Regions from separate parts of the Homo sapiens genome. Here region 2 is linked to region 1. The links are contacts of gene promoters, found by promoter capture Hi-C in human tissues and cell types (Jung and others, 2019). All regions are on one chromosome and are shown on one strand. Each heading gives the region's core, a stretch centred on a gene start or on the middle of the fragment in contact. The rest is flanking DNA. Distances are from core to core; before and after follow the strand shown. Region 1 holds the start of RDH11 (retinol dehydrogenase 11). Region 2 has its middle 41 kb from the start of ZFP36L1.

Region 1 (7,805 bases), core at 3,645-6,144:
CTGCAAGCTCCGCCTCCCAGGTTCACGCCATTCTCCTGCCTCAGCCTCCCGAGTAGCTGGGACTACAGGCGCCCGCCACCACGCCCGGCTAATTTTTTGTATTTTTAGTAGAGACGGGGTTTCATCGTGTTAGCCAGGATGGTCTCGATCTCCTGACCTCGTGATCTGCCCACCTCGGCCTCCCAAAGTGCTGGGATTACAGGCGTGAGCTACTGTGCCCGGCCTTCTGTAATCTTTTTCTCTGGTTCTAACTCTGGTGTGGCCTGATGCTAAAATGTTTATCTTAAAGCTCTGGAACAAAACCATTTTCCTCCAATATAACTTGATTCTGTAGTCTTGGCTTTTCTCGATATAGCTAAATTATTTCCTATAACCAGGGCACTTTTGATGCTGTTACTGAGACATATTTATTGTCCTGCTTAAGATACAAGTTTCCTTGTTTACTTTCCTCAAAAATATAGTGTACACTCATAACTCTGGACACACTCTTCCTGTATTTTAATTAAATCCAAGTATCCTTTTTTTTTTTCTCGCTCTGTCTCCAGGCTGCAGTACAGTGGCATCATCTCAGCTCACTGCAACCTCCGCCTCCCAGGTTCAAGCGATTCTCCTGCCTCCATCTCCCAAGGAGCTGGGACTACAGGTGCGCACCACCACGCCCAGCTGATTTTTGTATTTTTAGTAGAGACGGGGTTTCACCATGTTGGCCAGGATGGTCTCGATGTCTTGACCTCATGATCCGCCCACCTCGGCCTCCCAAAGTGCTGGAAGTACAGGCGTGAGCCACCGCGCCCAGCCTAAATCCAAGTATTCTTTTCATTGAGTTTGTCTTCCAGGTTATCTAAATAGAGTTCCAATAAAGAAAAACAATCATATTACAAAAGGTTTTTCTTTACTTTTTAGTAACTATCCTAAAATTTTTCTTAATGTTTTATCAAGGTAATTCCTGTGACTTACTGTGTTTTGATCACTTTAAAAAAAAAAGCTTTAAAAAGGTGAAGATTTTTTACATCCACATAACTTTCTTTCTTTCTCTCTCTGTTTCTTTTTTTTTTTTTTTTTTTTTTTGAGATAGGGTCTTGCTCTGTCTTCCAGGTTGGAGTGCAGTGGCACAATCACAGCTCACTGCAGCCTCAACCTGTGAGGCTCAAGAAATCCTCCCACCTGAACCTCCGGAGTAGCTGGGACCAAAGGCACACACCAGTACACTGCCTATTTTATTTATTTATTTTTTGTTTATTTATTCATTTATTTTTTAAATTTTTGGTTGAGACAGGGACTCATTAGGTTTCCCAGGCTGGTCTCGAACTTCTGGGCTCAAGTGATCCTCCCGCCTTGGCCTTCCAGTGTTGGGATTACAGGGATGAGCCACCACATCCAGCCTTTTATCTTTTTTTTTTTTCTGAGATAGAGTCTCGCTCTTGTCGCCCAGGCTGTAGTGCAATGGCGCGAACTTGGCTCATTGAAACCTCTGCCTCCCGGGTTCAAGTGATTCTCCTGCCTCAGCCTCCCAAGTAGCTGGGATTACAGGTGCCTGCCACCATGCCCAGCTAATTTTTTTGTATTTTTAGTAGAGATGGGGTTTCATCATGTTGGGCAGGCTGGTCTCAAACTCCTGACCTCAGGTGATCCATCCATTTCGGCCTCCCAAAGTGCTGGGATTACAGGCATGAGCCAACATGCCTGGCCCTTTTATCTTCTTTAGAGTTCTCTTTTCTTCTTACTAGCACACAGGTTGGCAAACCATGACCCACAGGCCAAATGCAGCCCACTGTTTGTTTTTGTAAATAAAGTTTCATTGGAACACAGTAACATTTGAACAGTAAACACAGTAACATTTGAACACATTTGTTCAAATATTATCTATGGCTGCTTTCACATTTACAACAGCAGAGTCGAGTAGCTGCAACAGAGACCAAATCCTCCTCAGAGCATAAAATATTTATTTTTCTTTTCAGGAGAAGTATAACAGCTCCTATACTATCCAGTCCCTCATTATTCCAATCCCATTATAGTTAATAATTTTTTTATGTTAAACTTTCCCTGTTCAAATTGTTGTGTAGTTTCTCACTTCTGATTGAACCCTGTCTGATACATCTCCAACCTCTCTGGCCGTTTCTCAGTCAATTTTTGGGCTCCCCTCCCTCTACCCATTTCATAATGTTAGGGTTCCTCAAAGCTTCCCTCTGCTTTTAGATAGGTTTTTGCTCTGCCACCCAGGGTGGAGTGCAGTGGCACAATTCTAGCTCACTGCAGCCTCCAACTCCTGACTCAAACAATCCTCCCACCTCAGCCTCCCAAAGAGCTGGGACTACAGATGTGTACCACCATGCCTAGCTAATTTTTTAGTAGAGATAATCAATGGTTTTTAATCTAGATTCCATTATGGCTCCAATGTGTCTATAAACCACCTGAAATTATATGCAAATTTTATATGGATATGCAAATACACACAAGTATGGGGAGAAATTTCCAGCTTCATCTTTTGGCAATATAGCTCAATAGTTAAGGGCACAATAGACCCTGCATACAACTTGGTGGACAAAAGTGACTGCATCTGGGATGCTAATCTGCAATGCTGACTTCAATGTTGACTGCAATGTTGATTAGCCCCAGTCCTGTGAATATCTCCTGATTCCTACTTTATTTACTGTCCCTAGTGTAAGAACATGTCAACCTTGATGTTATTGCACAAATTATTATCTATTACACATGTAGCATTCTTGCCTGTTCTGGAGGGCTACCTTTAATTGTCTTGCACAGAGCAGTTTGACTCTTTCCCTACAGTATATAAACTCTGAGTGTGGAGCTTACATGTACAGAAATCTGCCACCCAAGCCCACATTTCTGTCTGTAAATTCCCACAGTAAAACACCCTTACCAAGAAACTGGATTTGTCTGCCTCAACCTTTGGTGTCTTGGCTCCTCTGGCATTTGGGGGCCACTTTGCATATAGGGCCCTCTCATGGAACACCACCTGCTTCAGTTTGAATCCCAGCTCTGCCTCTTTGACCTAGGCTAGCTTACACGGTGCCTCAGTTTTCTTGTCTGTAAAATAGGGAAAATTATAGTACCTACCTCTTAGAGTTGTTATGGGAATTAAGAGTTAATATATATATATAAATCATTGGGACAGGGCCTGGCCATAATTAAGCAGTATTTAAGCACTGGCTATTATTGCCATTTCTGGCACTCTCCCTTCTCCCTAGACGGTTTTCTGTTGCTCTAGTGCACCCTGCTTTCTCTGACTGTGAACCCTCAGGTGGGGTCTTTCCTCTGCTCAGCACACTCTTGTCTATGTTGCTTGCCTACTAACTTCCCTCTGGCCTCCGCTCAAATGTTATTTCCTCAAATAAGCCTCTCCTGATCTAGAACTCCTCTCCCTTGTAAAAGCTCCCAGAGCTTTCTCTAATCCTCCTCATAACCTTCACCATGATTTATTTACAGTGATTACTTATTTAAGGTCTTCTCTGACAGTCCATGAACTCCGGGCGAGCAGAGATTATGTGTTCCTGGCTTCCTGCTGGACATCAGCACAGTGCCTAGTACACTATAGGAATGCCATAAATGTTTGTCAAATGCGTGAATGACTGAATAAGGAACAAAACAAATGAAAGGCTTTTATAAAGTTATAAAACCCAATACAAATATTAGGTAACACAATAATGAGAATGTGACAAAATGTGATGATTGCTAGGTAATCTAATGTTAAATTGGTAGGAATTAGTATTGTGTGAAGGAAACCCTCTCTTCTCCAATTTGCTATAAAATATATTAGTTCATTGGAACCCGTGTCTTTTAACCAAATGGAAATTATGCAAAAGGACCAGAAAATATTACTGGGTACAATTAAGGAATCACAGACAGATATTGATTGGTTAAAACACCCTCCACTTTCACCCCCAGGAAATAGGCCTCAGATGAAAGAAACTATTGAACAGGGAACCTATTTATTCACAGAGAACATATTCATGGCCTTAATTCAAGACAGGATTAAATACTTTCACGAGTTGGCAAAACCAACTGTGCCAATCTGAGATATTCATTGCTACCCTGGGAGTTAATGTATGTGACCCAAGCCATCAGGAAGACGATATTCTATTATCAATGAACACTCAAACACTAGAAAAATCATGATAGTTGCCACCATAATTCAAGATAGACACAATAAAGTGATTCTCCTGAGAATGTCTTCAAGGACTTATTGCTTCCTCTTCTCTGGAAAAAGGAATCCTCGAGGAGGAAGGGTTTACATTCCCCCACCTTCCCAACTGTCAGACTTCGGACCGCTCCTCTCCTGTCTAATCCGCCTTTCATTTCCCAGACGCCAACATCTGATCTCCAGGAGAAACAGTGCGGTAACTGCCTAACCAGGATTGGGGAAAACTGAACCAGGCACTGGACTTGGGTCTGGGGAGATAGAGGACTGCAGAGATTTCACAAACACCGCGGTGCCTAGTACACTATAGGAATAAGTGTACTATTCCTATAGTGTATACTTTTTTTTTTCCAGAAAAATCCCTCTGGGGTATGAGCACTATTTTCAGTTCTGGTTCAACTTTTCATTGAGATTCTATGTGGATAAGAGGATCTTGTAGTGAAAAAAAGATAAAAAGCAGTGTTTTCATCTGAGTGTGAGAAACCATGTGTGCCTAGAGGTGGGAGAACTGAGTATTCAGAAGGCAGAAAAAATAACTGAGAGCTGGGTGAATGATCCCACAGGCCCTAAGCCCTAGATGGTTGGGGATTAGCGATGTATAATTCAACTTCTGCCAGCGTTGGCGGCAGCGCTCCCACGTAGCCAGCCTGAGGCTGTCAAGCTCTGGACTACATTTCCCAGAAGGTCTGCTCCCCGGGCTGTCGCAATTTGAATTGGGGCGTGTCTAGAAAGAGAAGCCATAGTCGGCGAGCAACGCTGGAGCATCCCGCTCTGGTGCCGCTGCAGCCGGCAGAGATGGTTGAGCTCATGTTCCCGCTGTTGCTCCTCCTTCTGCCCTTCCTTCTGTATATGGCTGCGCCCCAAATCAGGTCTGTGCAAATGTATTGCCTTCTCTTGAGAATTCTTGTTGCGGGGCGGGAGGGAAACATAGAATCCCCACCAAAGCTTTCTTGGAAAACTCCCCTGGGGGGGCTCCAAGATGGCGGAGCCCAGAGTTCGGTGGGTTGGAGGCGAGGTCCAGCTGTCCTGGGTGCCAGGAGGACACCCGAGACCCCAGGCGGTGAGAAAGGGCGGCAGTCCGGGGCACACTGCTTTTCCCTGGCCTGTTTTTCTTTTGTCTAAGCACCCCCTGATTCTGGCTCCAGGGAATCCCGAGGGTAAGGCTACCTCAAACGCTTGAGTTTCGGACTCTTCAATGGGATATGGCCCGACGCTGTTTTCCCCTTATTCCCCACGCCTTAAACCAGCCTTCGAGGTACAAAGGAGCGATTCCACATTTCGCCCTCTGAAACTGATAGCAATCGTAACATCTGCGGCCCCATCCTTGCTCTCTCGTTGCTGTTACAATCGCTTGTTCTGTGGGCGGATGTTGTAAAGGAGAAAAGTGAAAAGGAAGAGTGTTTGGTTATGAGCTCTATCCTGCCTTGCGAGCAGGAGCACGGGGGATCTGAGTTAGGAGCTAGGGTACTGGGGCGGTGAGGGCTGGGAGAATGGTGGGAAGGTATTGACCAGGTGATAGATCAATCAGCCCAAGGCTGGCCAAGTGCCCCAGTGAATCAGCAGCGGGCTGTAAAACCGGCAGCCTGCTTATTGGTTCTAAGTAAATCACCAGTGGTGACGGACCAGTGACTGAATAGACAGACACACTCCTTCCCCAGGTGGGCGGTCTTAGTCCCAATAGAACTTGAAGCCAGGCCAGATCACAGTCATTTCTTACCACAGTCACCTACTTTCCTTCTTTTATTTTTATTTTCTCTTCCTTCTCTGGTGCCCCTCTTCCAGTTATATTTTTTCTGCCTTCTGAACACTCAGTTCTCCCACCTCTAGGCACACATGGTTTCTCACACTCAGATGAAAACACTGCTTTTTATCTTTTTTTCACTACAAGATCCTCTTATCCACATAGAATCTCAATGAAAAGTTGAACCAGAACTGAAAATAGTGCTCATACCCCAGAGGGATTTTTCTGGAAAAAAAAAAAATATATGTGTGTATATATATATATATATGTGTGTGTGTGTATATATATATATGTGTGTGTGTGTGTATATATATATATATATATATTCCAGGAGCTGTATTCCCAACTCAGCAGGGTTATGGGAGTCGGGCCAGAGCTGGACTTTTATAGTTGTCTCTTTCATTCCTGCTGGTTAAGGAGAAGAAAGAACTAAGTACAGGTCCTACTAAGTTGTCACTCCTGGAGCTACATACAGTAAGGGGATGTGGGAAACAGCCTAGAGGCTTGTTTTCTGAGGAGGGAGGTGATGGTTTGTGGGGACCATGAGTTAATCTGCCTCCCTGTCAGCATTTTCGCACTATGCAGGTAGCTTCAATGGCTAAGAGTATGTACCTTGCAATTCCAAGTTCAATGAAAAAGGCTGAAATGCTCTTTAAGAATGCATCTCCTGGTCAACAGATTGTTTTAACCAGAGTCCCAACATTGCCAAGAAGAGAATAGGCCAGTCTGAGAACCACCAATCTGTGTTTGTGCATTCATTCATTTGGAAAAGGCAATATAGTATAGTACTTAGAAACAAGCACTCTAGGCTGGGCTTGGTGACTCACACCTGTAATCCCAGCACTTTGGGAGGCTGAGGTGGGCGGATCACCTGAGGTCAGGAGTTCGAGACCATCCTGGCCAGCGTGGTGAAACCCTGTCTCTACTAAAAATACAAAAATTAGCTGGGCGTGGTGGCGCATGGGTGAGGGGGTGAGGGATGAGAATCGCTTGAACCTGGGAGATGGGGGTTGCAGTGGAGGTGGAGGTTGCAGTGAGCCGAGATCACACCATTGCACTCCAGCCTGGGCAACAAGAGCAAAACTCTGTCTCAAAAAAAAAAAAAAGAGAAAGAGAAAGAAAGAAACAAGGACTCTAATTACACAAAGCAAGACTTGAATCCCAGCTCCCCTTTGTACATACATAATCTTCTCTTTGTTTTAAGTGTGTATGTGCATGCGTGTGGGTGTGTTTTTTTTTTCTTGTTTATTTTGTCCCAGAGTCACAAGCTTTCATAATTTTAACTTTTTGTATTGGATTAGCCATTTCTCAAGGCCATAAAATGCCAGTTGTGGACAGATTGACCTACAGAAACTAGTTATTTCTTCTTCTGGGCTGAATCTTGTGATTTCCTAAGTCACAAGTGCCTTAGAGAGCTCAAACCAAAGCCAGGTGCCTGGCTAAGCAGGTATTCATCCAGTTCTTGTGCTGCAGAGAACAGCTGTAAGCTTTGCCCTTGTAATAGAATCACTTTTGTCTTTGAGCAAAAGCAGAAAACTTTTGTCATCTTTCCTCCAACTTTCCTTAAATGGACACTGTTTCCTTAAAAGGACAACAGTGGAAAGAACTAAAGCAAACCTCAGCCAGAAGACACAGGGAGTTGCAGGAACCTACTGGCTGAGACAGTAGAATGAAGAATTGATGAGCTCTCCTTCTCTGTCTGCAGGAAAATGCTGTCCAGTGGGGTGTGTACATCAACTGTTCAGCTTCCTGGGAAAGTAGTTGTGGTCACAGGAGCTAATACAGGTATCGGGAAGGAGACAGCCAAAGAGCTGGCTCAGAGAGGCAAGTTCACCTCCTTTCAATTCCCTCCTATTACTGCTGTTTTACCCCTCACAGTAATGATGATTCATTCTCATTGTTTCT
Region 2 (7,805 bases), core at 3,590-6,089, 1.1 Mb before region 1:
CTTACTCATTTCCATCTGAACCTCATCAGCCTGGCCTTCACTGGCTATATCTCTCAGTATTTTGGTCACAACCATTTACTCAGTATCTAAAAAGCTCCAAATTTTCCCTCATCATCCTGTCTTCTTCTGAGCCCTCCAAACTCTTCCAACCTAGAAGACTAGAGTAAATAACTGATCCTTCAGTGCAAAAACAGAGGAGACATCCAGAAGAAACAACAGCAAACAGGGAACCATGACCTTCTGTAATGGACAAAGCAAGGAACCAGTGACTGACTCTAATGAGACAGTGATACATGAACCCCTTGACCAATTGTTCAAAACAGCAGTTTTAAGGAAACAGTGATCGCCAAGATAACACATAAAATCAATTCAGAAATGTTTGAGACTTTTGTTTTGTTTTGTTTTTGAGATGGAGTTTCAGTCTTTTGCCCAGGCCAGAGTGCAGTGGCGTGATCTCGGCTCACTGCAACCTCCGCCTCCCAGGTTCAAGTGATTTTCCTGCCTCAGCCTCCGAGTAGCTGGGATTACAGGTGCCTGCCACCATGTCAGACTAATTTTTGTATTTTTAGTAGAGACAGGGTTTCTCCACATTGGTCAGGCTGGTCTTGAATTCCTGACCTCAGGCGATCCACCCACCTCAGCCTCCCAAAGTGCTGGGATTACAGGCATGAGCCACTGTGCCCAGCCAAGAAAAATTTAACAAAGAGATTGAAATAATAATTAAAAAATCAAACAAACAGAAATCTTGGAACTGAGAAATACATTTGCCAAACAGAAAAATGCACTAGAGGCTCTTAACAGCAGAATGGGTTAAGTGGAGGAAATAATTAGTGAGCTTGAAGACAGGCTAATAAAAAATATGGCCATAGGAGAAAAAAGAAGAATGAAAAGGAATGAAAATTATCTACAAGATATAGAAAATTACCTCTAAACACCAAATCTAAGAATTATTGGTATTCAAGAGGGATATGTACAACAGCAAGGGGCAGAAACTCTATTCAAAGAAATAATACCAGAAAACTTTCCAAAACTTGAGAAATATATGAATATCCAGTACAGGAAGGTCAGAGAACATCAAACAGATTCTACCGAAATAAGAGCACCCCAAGGCATAAAATAATTTTCTCTCAAAAGTCTAAGATAAATAAAGGATCCTAAAAGCAGCAAGAGAAAAGCAAATAACATATAAAGGAGCATCAGTTTGTCTGGCAATAGACTGCTCAATGGAAACCACATTGGCCAGGAGGGAGTAGGATGACATTTTCAAAGTGCTGGAAAAAACAAAACAAAACAAAATAACCCTGCCATCCAGGAATACTGTATCCAGCAAAGTTGTCCTTCAAATATTAAGGAGAGATGTAATCTTTTTCAGACAAACAAAAGCAGAGAATTCACCACCACCAGACTCATCTTACAAGGAATGCTAAAGAGAGTTCTTCAACCAGAAGGAAAAAAACCACCCCACGAACATGCAAAAAGAAAACACTTGAAGGTATAAAATCCACTGGTAAAATTAAATACATGGACAAACCCAGAATATTCTAATATTGTAAATGTGGTGTGCAATTCATGCATAACTCTAGTATGAAACCTAAAGAGCAAATCTATCAAAAACAATATAGCTACAGCAGCCTACTAAGAGATAGGCAGTATAAAAATATGTAAATTGAGACAATAAAAAGACAAAATGTGAGGAGGATGGAGTTCAAGTGTAGAATTTTTTTCATTTTTGTTTCTATTATTTTCTTTGTGATCTAGAACTTTGTGATAAGTTGCCACCTCTGTAAAATGACTTGTTATATTTATAAGATGTTTTCTGTAAGCCTCATAGTAACCACAATGCAAAAACCTATAATAGAGTCACTGCAAATAAAAAGCAATGAATTAAAACATACTGCCAGAGAAAACCACTTAACCACAAAGGAAGACAGTAAGAAAGAGAGAAAGGAAGAGAGGAGTTACAAAACAACCAAAAAACAAGCAACAAAATGGTAGTGGTAAGTTCTTACTTATCAAAATAACACTGAATGTAAATGAATTAAATTCTCCAATTAAAAGGCATAGAATGGCTAAATGGATAAAGAAACAAGACCCAACTATATGTTGCCTACAAAAAAACCCATTTCACCTATAAAGACACACATAGAGCCCAGGAGATTGAGGCTGCTGTGAGCTATGATCGTATCACTGCACTCCAGCTTAGAAGACAGAATGATACCTTTTTTTTTTTTTTTTTTTTTTTGAGATACACATAGACTGGGCTGGGCACGGTGGCTCATACCTGTAATCCCAGCACTTTGGGAGGCCAAGGTGGGCGGATTACCTGAGGTCAGGAGTTCGAGACCAGCCTGGCCAACATGGTGACCCCGTCTCTACTAAAAACACAAAAATTAGCCAGGCATGGTGGCACATGCCCGTAATCCCAGCTACTCGGGAGGCTGAGGCAGGGGAATTGCTTGAGCCTGGGAGGCATAGATTTCAGTGAGCCGAGATTATGTCACTGCAGCCTGGCTGACAGAGCAAGACTCTGTCTAAAAAAAAAAAAAAAAAAAAAAGATACACATAGACTGGAAGTGTGTCCAGTTAAAATAAGATATAGTACGCAACTGGAAACCAAAAAAGGGAAGTAGATATGTTTATACCAGATAAAATAGACTACAAGTCAAAGACTGTAAAAAGAGACAAAGAAGGTCACTATATGATGATAAAGGGGTCGATTCAGCAAGATGATACAACAATTATAAATATCTATGCACCTAACGTTAGAGCTCCCAAATATATAAATCAAACATAAATCTATCTAAAGGGAGAGATAGACTACAATATAATAATAGTAGGGAATGTCAACACTCTACTCTCAGTAATGCACAGAACATCCATGCAGAATATCAATAAAGAAACATTAAACTACACACTAGACAAAGTAGACCTAACTAATATTTACAGAATATTTCACCCAACTGCTGCAGAATACACATTCTTTTCATCAGCATATGGAACATTCTCCAGAGTAGACCATGTCTTAGGCCACAAAACAAGTCTCAACAAATTCAGAAAAGAAGAAATAATATCAAGTATCCTTTCTGGCTACAATGGAATAAAACAAGAAATCAATAACAAGAAGAACCTCAGAAACTACACAAATACATGGAAACTAAGCAACATGCTCCTGAATGATGAATGGGACAATGAATAAATTAAGAAAAAAAATGTAAAAAGTCTCTCAAAACAAATTAAAAGGAAATATACCATAATCTGGGGGATACATCAAAGGCAATACTAAGAAGGAAGTTTATACAACAAACAACTATATCAAAAAAGCAGAAAGATTTCAAATAAATAACCTAATGATGCACCTCAGGAAACTAGAAAAGCAATAACAAACCAAACCCTAAATTAGTAGAAGGAAATAAATACTAAAGATTAGAGCAGAAATAAATGAAATTGAGATTTAAAAAATACAGAAGATCAATGAAACAAAAAGTTGGTTCTTTTGAAAAAATAAAATCAACAAACATTTAGCTAGACTATCTAAGAAAAAAAGAGAAAAGACCCAAGTAAACAAGATCAGAAACTGAAAAGGAGACATAAGTGAGACTACAGAAGTTCAAAGAATCATTAGAGACTATTATAAACAACTACATGCCAACAAACTGGAAAACCTAGAAGAAATGGATAAATTCCTGAACATATACACTTATCAAGACTGAACTATGAATATTGTTCATATGAATATCAAGACTGAACTATGAAGAAAATAGAAAACCTGAACAAGCCAATAATGACTAATGAAATTGAAGCTGTAACAAAGAGTCTCCCATCAAGAAAAGCCCAGGACATGATACCTTCACTGCTGAATTCTACCAAACATTTAAACAAGAATTAATACCAATTCCATGCAAACTCTTCAATAAAACTGAAGAATAGGGAATACTTCCAAACTTGTTCTACAAGGTCGTCATTACCCTGATACCAAAACTAGACAAGGACATGACAAGAAAAGAAACAACAGGCTAATATCACTGATAAAAATAGATGCAAAACCCCTCAACAAAATACTAGCAAACTGAATTCAATAACACATTAAAAAGACCATTTGGCGGCTGGGCACAGTGGCTCACGCCTGTAATCCCAGCATTTTGGGAGGCTGAGGGAGGCGGGTCATGAGGTCAGGAGATCGAGACCATCCTGGCCAACATGGTGAAACCCCATCTCTACTACAAATACAAAAATTAACTAGGCATAGTGGCACATGCCTGTAGTCCCAGCTACTCGGGAGGCTGAGGCAGGAGAATCGCTTGAATCTGGGACGCAGAGGTTGCAGTGAGCCGAGATTGTGCCACTGCACTCCAGCCTGGGGACAGAGTGAGGCTCTGTCTCAAAAAAAAACCATTTGCCATGACCAAGTGGGATTCATCCTAGAGACATAAGGATGGTTCAACATTTGCAAATCAATAAATGTGATACATCACATTAACAGAACCATAAGACCATTTCAATCAAGGCTGAAAAAGTATTCAATAAAATTCAACATCCCTTTATGATGAAAACTCTCAACAAATTGGGTAGAGAAGGAGCATATCTCAAAATAATACAGGCCATATCTGACAAACTGTCAGCTAACATCATACTGAACAGGGAAAAATGGAAAGCCTTTTCTTTAAGATGTGAAACATGACGAGAATGCCCACTCTCAACCTTTTAATCAACATAATATTGGAAGTACTGGCCGGAGCAAGTAGGAAAGAGAAAGAAATAAAGGGCATCCAATTGGAATGAAAGAAATCACATTAGCTTTGTTCACAGATGACATAATTTTATACTTAGAAAAATCTATAGATTCCACCAAAAAACTGTTAGAACTGATAAACGAATTCAGTAAAGTTGCAAAATCAATGTACAAAAATCAGCATTTACATACATCAACAGCAAACAATCTGCAAAAGAAATCAAGAAAGCAATGCCATTTATAATAGCTACAAAGAATATAAAATACCGAGGAATCAATTTTTTTTTTTTTCTTTTGAGACAGAGTCTTGCTCTGTCACCCAGGCTGGAGTGCAGTGGCTCAATCTTGGCTCACTGCAAGCCTCCCAGGTTCAAGCGATTCTTCTGCCTCAGCCTCCTGAGTAGCTGGGACTACAGGCACATGCCACCATGCCCGGCTAATTTTTTGTTGTTGTTTGTATTTTTAGTAGAGATGCAGTTTCACCATATTGGCCAGGCTGGTCTCAAACTCCTGACCTCGTGATCCACACACCTCAGCCTCCCAAAGTGCTGGGATTAAAAGCATGAGCCACCGTGCCTGGCCCCTAGGAATCAATTTAACCAAAGACGTGAAAGATCTATACAAGGAAAACCATAAAATTTTGACAAAGGAAATTGAAGACGACATACGAAAAAGGAAAAGATAGTCCCTGCTCATGGATTGGAAGAATTAACATTGTTAAAATGGCAATATTACCCAAAGCAATTTATAGCTTGAACACAAGCCCTTTCAAAATACTAATGATATTATTCACAGTAATAGGAAAAAAAAAAACCCTAAAATTTATATGGAACCACAAAAGACCCCAAATAGCCAAAGCAATACTGAGCAAAAAGCACAAAGCTGGTGGCATCACATCCCATTATGTGATTTCAAAATATACTACAAGGTTGTAATAACCAAATCAGCATGGTACTGCCATAAAACAGATACACAGATCAATGGGAACACAACAGAGAACTCAGATATAAAATCCATTCATTTATAGCCAACTAATTTTCAATGAAGATGCCATGAATATACACTGGAGAAAGAAGAGTCTTTTCAATAAATGGTGCTGGGGAAACTGGATAACCATATGCAAAATAATAAAACTAGACCCCTATTTCTTACCATATATAAAAATGGATTAATTACTTAAGTCTATGACCTGAAACTATGAAACTACTAGAAGAAAACATTGGGAAACACTCCAGGACAAAGATTTTTTGTGTAAGACTCAAAAGCACGGGCAATAAAAGCAAAAATAGACAAAGAGGATTACAGCTAGCTAAAAAGCTTCTGCACAGCAAAAGAAACAATCAACAAAGTAAAGAGGTAACCCCCAGAATGAGAGAAAATATTTGCAAACTACTCATCCAACAAGGGATTAATAACTGAATATATAAGGAGTTCAAACAACTTAATAGCAAAAAAAAAATCTGATTTAAAAATGGGCAAAACATCTGAACAGACATTTCTCAAAAGAAGACACACAAATGGTGTATGAAAAAATGCTCCACATCACTAATCATCAAAGAAATACAAATCAAGCCTGGGCGAGGTGGCTCACGCCTGTAATCCCAGCACTTTGGGAGGCCAAGGTGAGCGGATCAACGAGGTCAGGAGATCGAGACCATCCTGGCTAACACAGTGAAACCCCGTCTCTACTAAAAACACAAAAAATTAGTTGGGCGTGGTGGCGGGCGCCTGTAGTACCAGCTACTCGGGAGGCTGAGGCAGGAGAATGGCATGAACCCGGGAGGCGGAGGTTGCGGTGAGCCGAGATCGTGCCACTGCACTCCAGCCTGGGTGACAGAGCAAGACTCTGTCTCAAAAAAAAAAAAAAAAAGAAAAGAAAAAGAAAAAGAAAAAGAAAAAAGAAATACAAATCAAAACAACAGTGAGATCATCTCACTCCACTTAAAATGGCTTTTATCAAAAAGGGATGCTGCTGAGGATATGGAGAAAGGGGAACCCTCATAGACTGTTGGTGGGAATGTAAATTAGTACAACCACTATCAATAGCACTTTTTGAGCTATTTTTAGCACAAAAAACTAAAAAGAGAACCACCATTTGATCCAGCAATCCACTACTGGGTATATATCCAAAAGAAAAGAAATCAATATATCAAAGAGATATCTGCACTCCTGTATTTATCACAGCACTATTCACAATAGCCAAAAAATGGAATCAACCTAAGTGTCCATCAATGGATGAATAGATAGAGAAGATGTGGTATATATACCCAATGAAGTATTATTCAACCATAATAAAATAAAATTATGTCATTTGTAGCAACATGGATGCAAGTGGATGTCACCATGTTAAGTGAAATAAGCCAAGTGCAGAAAGACAAATATTGCATGTTCTCACTCATATGTGGGAGCTAAAAACTTGGATCTCTTGAAGACAGAGAGTAAATTTGTGGTTTTCAGAGGCTGGGAAGGAGAGGGGAGTGAGGGGATGAAGAGAGGTTGATTAATGGGTACAAATATACAGTCAGAAAAAGTAAGATCTATTGTTCTATAGATCTGTAGGGTGACAATAGTTTGCAATAACCTATTATGTATTTCAAAATAGCTAGAAGGGAATAACTTGAATGTTTCCAGTATAAAGAAAAGACAGATATTCAAGGGACAGATATCTCAATTATCCTGATTTGATATTTACACATGATATGAATGTATTAAATTATTACATGTACCCTGAAAATATGTACATCTATTATGTATCAATAAAAAATAAACATACCTTAAAATAAAATAAAATGTGTAAAGGAAAAAAATCATTTGACCATATATGTGAGGGTTTGTTTCTGGGCTCTGTCTTCTACTTCATTGGTTTATATGTCTGTCTTTATGCCAGTTCCACATTGTTTTGAATACTGTAGCTTTGTTTTGAAATCAGGAAAAGTGAGTCCTTTAGCTTCGTTCTTTTTCTTTTTCTTTTTTTTTGAGACAGAGTCTCTCTGTCGCCCAGGCTGGAGCACAGGGGCGCGATCTTGGCTCACTGCAAGCTCCGCCTCCCGGGTTCACGCCATTCTTCTGCCTCAGC

Evidence for each region. The method cuts DNA at HindIII sites, captures the fragments that hold promoters and counts their contacts. A contact is called where the count stands out against the background at its distance.
Region 2: a fragment that was not itself captured here is called in contact with the fragment with the promoter of RDH11 in region 1 in 1 of the 25 tissues and cell types used here (dorsolateral prefrontal cortex).

The regions. Positions count from the first base shown.
Region 1 is chr14:67,692,853-67,700,657 of GRCh38, reverse strand. RDH11 (retinol dehydrogenase 11) reads left to right here and starts at 4,894. Exons shown (of 7, transcript NM_016026.4): 1 at 4,894-5,028; 2 at 7,606-7,724. The coding sequence starts at 4,955. It also overlaps a transcript of GPHN not described here. RefSeq lists enhancers at 4,577-4,626, 4,647-4,696, 4,741-5,377 and a silencer at 5,727-5,786. The HindIII fragment of the contact is 4,554 bases long and covers 1,583-6,136 here.
Region 2 is chr14:68,829,785-68,837,589 of GRCh38, reverse strand. No RefSeq gene overlaps it. Among named protein-coding and RNA genes, the nearest start is that of ZFP36L1, 41 kb to the right of the region's middle. The HindIII fragment of the contact is 4,582 bases long and covers 2,549-7,130 here.